2 separate regions of the Homo sapiens genome follow, and region 2 is linked to region 1. The links are contacts of gene promoters, found by promoter capture Hi-C in human tissues and cell types (Jung and others, 2019). All regions are on one chromosome and are shown on one strand. The core of a region is centred on a gene start or on the middle of the fragment in contact, and the rest is flanking DNA. Distances in the headings are between cores, read along the strand shown.

Region 1 (2,700 bases), core at 201-2,700:
GTGGGAGGGGGGCTACAGGAGTCTAGAAGGGAGAGGACATAATTCCCCCAAATCTCCAACTTTTGAGGAAAGCCTCCCCTCCTTGCCCCAGGTGGCCCCAGCACTGGGGTGGAACATGTGTACAGAGAACCAGGCCACAAGAGACTGGATACGCAGAGCCGCTATGGGCACCAGCCCCTCTGAGCTGTGTCCAGCCCCTACCCCTATGCCCTGTTCTTCCGGACAACAAGTCCAGGCCTGACCTGGTTCTGCCCCTACCTGGAAAGAGGGAAGACACAGAAGAAGACAGCCCCTGAGAAGTCCGCCCCAAGGCCTCCTTCCCCCTCGCACTGAAAGAATCTCTCAGCCCTGGATCAGGGCCCCTCACCAGGAAAGTTGACAGAGCGGGGTCTCAATGACACTGCCCCAGGGCCCAGCTGGGCTGGAAAACAGATCCAGACCAGCGCTCCCAGCCCTCCCTCCCCTAGCAGGAATAAAGGGCATGACAGACAATGGTGGGGACCGGGGTAGGAAGCGGGAGACCAGCCACCCTCAAACCTTGTCAAGTCTAAACAAGGGCCCTGAGCAAGTGTGGGGAAGAAAAGGCCCCAAATCCAGACCCCTCCGAGCCAAGCTCACAGCGCTCAGGGCTGGAACTCTGAATCAGCACCCCGACGCAGGCGGCAGAACTGAAGGGAACGTGAGCCCCTCCCTGCCTCTCAGGGGACACACGGCCGGGGCGCGCGGCTTTGGTCCCAGACACCCTCCACAACCCAGCGCAGCCGCGGCACCGCGCGCAGAAACCGGCCTGGGCGCTGGGAGGCCGGGCCCGAGGCCTGCGTGGAGCTGAGGCCGGGCGGGCTCCGGGAGCGCGCGGGCCGGGAGTCCAAAGGGCGGCGGGGCCCGGGACTGGGCGCCCCGGATATGAGCTCCAGGGTGGCAGGCAGGCCCTCCACACTGTGCGGCCCCCGGATCCCCGCCCCGACCCCCCAAGCACGGACGGCGGGACAGGCGACGGCACAGGGGACACGGTCTCCCCGGCTTCCCCACCTTCCCGGACCAACTCGTCCCCGTCGCGGGGGGGTGGGGAGGGCGGGGGGCGGGGCTTCCCGGAGAGATTTTCCCCCTTCCCTCTAAACTTCCCGGCACCCCGATCCGGGGCTCCAGCTCCGGCTGGACAATAGCTCGGGGACCCAGTCCCCCTCGAGTGTCGCCCCCCCAGCCAGCCCAGCCGACCAACCAAACCACCTCTCCCGAGCGGGGCCTCCTCCCGGCGTCCGCCCGGCTTACCTGGTCCGAGCTCGCGGGGGCGCTCCGGCCGGGCCGCTCCGCCGGGCCCGAGGGAGCCGCAAGGGGGGCCGGGGAAGGGGGGTCGTGGGGAGGGGGCTGGCCGGAATGTGCGGAATGAGCCGGGCTGGAGCGGGAGGCGCCGAGCGCGGAGGAGGGAGCGAGCGGGACGGAAAGTTTGTGTTGAGGAGCCGGGGCGGGGGTGGGGGCTGCGGGAAGGAGGGGGCGGGGCGCGCAGGGGGCGGTGCTGGCCGGGAGGGGCGGGGCCGTCCAGCCGCGCTCGGGCCGCCTACCCCGCGGCCTCGCGACCCGGCCACCCCGGCTGGCGCGCGCCTGGGCGCCCCGCTCCTCGCCCGCCCGTGCGGAGCTGCCTTCCTCCCCCTGCGCTCCGGGCCTCGCCCCGCTCCCGGGCACCCGCCGGAATTTGGGGCTCCGGCCTGGGGCGGGGCCGAGGGCGGAGCCCTCGCCTCGCGGGCAGGGCTCCCGTCGGTGCCGGGGGCCGTGGGTGCCGCGTCACGAGGAGCCCGGCAGAGCCGGAGCGCACGGGCCCCGGGGCTCCCGGCCCCTCCACCCTAGTCCCGAGCCGCCAAGGCGGAGCGTACCCTCCAGCTCGCGGGCCTGCCCCCCACTCCCGGGGCCCCAGACCCGGCTCCGCCCTGGCGGCTGCGCCCGCCCTGCCGGGACCCGGTTTGTCTGGTTCTCCCCGCGTGGCTAGTTTCTCGAATTTCTTCTCCCTTTCTCCCTCTTCCCCGACCTCCGGGACCCTCCCTTTCGCCCCGGCTCCCCGGGCCCCCACGGGGGGCGTCTCGACGCTGTGCGGCCGCCGAGTTTCGGTAGGACCCGCGACGGGCGCGGGGAGGGGACGCGGGAGCGCCCGGGGCCTGGGCAGGAGTGGGACGGGGGTTGAGACTTCCAGCTCGCGCCTCGGACGCCTCCTGCCGCCTCGTTCTCCGCACGCGCTGAGGAACCACCGCTCCGCTTGGCCAAGGACGCGGCTTTATTGGGGATGTGGGTGCCTGGCCCTCGTCCCCCATCACCTACCCCCTCCTCCTAGCCCGCCCCAGCTCCTCGGAGCCCTAGCGCGGTCCCGGGGAGAGGGGAGGTTAAAACAACAATGACTACTGCTCCCGGACAGGAAGTGACTGGGGCGCGGGGAGGAGGGGGGCACAGCGGCGCAGGCGAGCTCCGAGACCAGATGTGCGGCTCCAACTCCAGATGTTCTTCATCTCCGTCCTACCCGCCGTCCGGGCTCCTCCTGCCTCGGCCTGTGCCAGGCTGGGGAGAGGACGGAGGTCACCGAGAGGCAGTGAGAGGTCAGCCCCGACACAGGAGCAGTTTTCCGCGGGAGCTTTGCTGGAGGGACCCTGCCAGCCTCCACTGAATCCTTTCCCCCACGCTGACGGGCTCTGGGGGCGCTGAGGGGCTGCTGGGGTC
Region 2 (2,700 bases), core at 59-2,558, 540 kb after region 1:
ACCAGCATCCTGGGAAAAATGGGGAGGCTCCTCTACTAAAAAATAAAAATAAAAAATTAGGGATGCTTGGTGGCACACTCCTGTAGTTCCAACTACTTGGGAGGCTGAGGTGGAGGGATTGCTTGAGCCTAAGAGGATTGCTTGAGCCTGGGAAGTTGAGGCTGTAGTGAGCTGTGATCCTGCCACTGTACTCCAGCTTGGGTGACAGAGTGATACCCTGTCTCCAAAAAGAAAAAAAAAAGGAAGCTATATTCTAATGGGGATGGCAGTGGAAGTAGATAATAAACAAAATATATAGTGTGTCAGATAAGTGCTGTGGAGAAAATGCAAGAAGGGAAGGAGAGTGAGTGCTAGGATGGCTGTTGCACTTTTAAGAAAGGTGAATACGGTAAGCATCATTGATAAAGTAACAATTGAGCAAAAACCTGAAGAAGGTGATATAGGACACTGGTTGGACATGGGTGAGGATGTGATAACATTCTAGGCTGAGGATTAGCAAGTGTGCAAAAGCCCTGAGGTAAGGGCCCTGTGCTCCAGGAAATAGCTAAGAGACCAGTACAGCTAGAGCTAAATGAACCAGGGGCCAAATATAGGGAGAAAAGTGGGGTGAGGAGAGGGTTGCAGATATGCAGGGATCATGTAGGGTCTTATTTGCCTTTGTACAGACTGTGACTTTTCCTTTAAGTGAGAGGGGAAGCCTTGGAGGGTTATGACCAGAGGAAGGACATGACCTAAATCTTGTTTTAACAGATTACTGTGCTCTAGGGTCCCAAGTTTTTCGTTTCGGTTCCTTACCCATTCTACCCTAAACCACTACTGTGAATAGGATAGAACGGTGGAGTTAGATGAATTGGTGCAAGCCCTGACCCATGCTCACAACTCTCATTCCAGCAGTCCCAGAGTGCCAGAGCCAGTATTTTTGTTGGGCCCTAGAAATTTAGGGTATTCCAGTCCAGCTCTTTAAATAACATGGGCTGACTTTACTTTTTCAGGTTTTTGTTGCCAAAAGGAAGGAGCAGAGATTAGCTCTTGAGTTTAGCTGAAAAAGGAAGATTAGTCTGCTGGCAGATTGAGTGTTTTTTAACTTCTTTGGCTTTTAGGGTTTTTCTTACTTTTGGATCATGTTTTAAAAGTCATTTTTACCTTCTTTCAACAGTTAAACATTTAAGTTTTATTTGATTTTATTTGACCCTTTTTCTGCTTTACATTCCTCTGCCTTTTCCCCATTATAATACTTTTAGTAGAGGTTAGACCATTGTTATCTGTCATTAATGTCTTAGCTTTGAGGCCCCAAGGACTTCTCTGTTAAACTTAAATATATCATATAGATTGAAAGATTATCTACAGACATGTGATCCTATAAAAACCCATATTATTTATTGTCCTCCCTGCCTTTACAGATGTAAACCCCTCTCCTCTTTTCATCAGAGCTCCCCCTCTTTTACTGCTCTATCATCAGGTTGCAGAAAATAAGTTTTCCTGCAAACATAGATTCCCATGGCAACATAACAAAAAGGTAATAGAACAAATGTTTATTTTGTCTAGACCTGCTGTCTGAGTACCATTAGACCCTGAACATGTTGGCTCCTGTTATTTGAATATGTGGTTACAAATTCCTTATTTTCCTCAAAACTTACTTCTCTTAGGCCTTGGTGATATTGTCACTGTGCCTGTGATATGAAGGAAGGTGTGTGTGTGTGTGAGTATGTGTGTCTTACTGTCATTCTACTCAAAAGTGTGTATTGATTGCATTTTCAAACTTATGGCTTAAAATGTAGACACCACACAATCTGAGCATGTGAAGAAAAAAAGCATACCAGTTTTGTTCTTTGTTTTCGTAAGTTCATTAATTTAATATTTCCAGTGCACTATACTAGATATTTTGTTTACAGAGATTTTAAAAAAAAGAAGGGTCCCTCCTTTCGAAAGTATCAGTCCAGGCTGGGTGCAGTGGCTCACGCCTGTAATCCCAGCACTTTGGGAGGCCAAGGTGGGCGGATCACTTGAGGTCAGGAGTTTGAGATCAGCCTGGCCAACATGGTGAAACCCCATCTCTACAAAAATTAGTTGGGCATGGTGGTGTGTGCCTGTAATCCCAGCTATTCAGGAGGCTGAGGCACAAGAATCACTTGAACCCGGGAGGCGGAGGTTGCAGTGAGCCGAGATCACTCCCCTGCACTCCTGTCTGGGCGATAGAGCAAGACTCAGTCTCAAAAAAAAAAAAAAAAAGAAAGTATCAGTCCAGAGGAGACATATTTATGTTTCCTCATAGATGGCTTTGGAAGTCCTCTGTAGTTTTGGATCTTGAAGCATTTTAGGTTTTGGATTTTCAGATTAGGGATACTCAACCTGTATAACCCAGGGTAATTCAACCTATTGACACTTTAGGTGGGATAATGTTTTGTTGTGGGGGACTGACCTGTGCAGTGTAGTATGTTTAGCAGCATCCCTGTCTCCAACTCACTGTATACTAATAGCAATTCCCAGTTGTGACAACCAAAAATGTCTAGACATTGCCACATATCTCTTGACGGGTAGGGAGGGCAAAATCACCTTTAGTTGAGAACCACTTATATAACCCTATATATTTGGATTGATAACCCTGTATATTTGATTGAGTAAAAACTAGATGGGATAACATGAACCTTCCACCTGCAAAAAGGCAGAAATGCTATACTTTCTGCATTATAAATTGGGCCT

The links. Contacts are between HindIII fragments. The study calls those that stand out against the background at their distance.
Region 2: a fragment that was not itself captured here is called in contact with the fragment with the promoter of TEAD3 in region 1 in 1 of the 25 tissues and cell types used here (spleen).

Annotation. Positions count from the first base shown.
Region 1 is chr6:35,495,629-35,498,328 of GRCh38, forward strand. It overlaps TEAD3 (TEA domain transcription factor 3), which reads right to left and starts at 1,451. Exons shown (of 13, transcript NM_003214.4): 1 at 1,270-1,451. It overlaps TULP1 (TUB like protein 1), which reads right to left. Exons shown (of 15, transcript NM_003322.6): 15 at 2,246-2,700. The coding sequence ends at 2,699. It overlaps LOC124901309 (a long non-coding RNA gene), which reads left to right and starts at 2,505. Exons shown (of 2, transcript XR_007059561.1): 1 at 2,505-2,579. RefSeq lists enhancers at 1-480, 1,427-2,357, 2,358-2,700 and silencers at 1,259-1,308, 1,489-1,618, 1,629-1,958. The HindIII fragment of the contact is 31,199 bases long and covers 1-2,700 here.
Region 2 is chr6:36,037,784-36,040,483 of GRCh38, forward strand. All of the region lies in intron 1 of MAPK14 (mitogen-activated protein kinase 14), which reads left to right. Among named protein-coding and RNA genes, the nearest start is that of MAPK14, 11 kb to the left of the region's middle. RefSeq lists a silencer at 838-887. The HindIII fragment of the contact is 3,983 bases long and covers 1-2,700 here.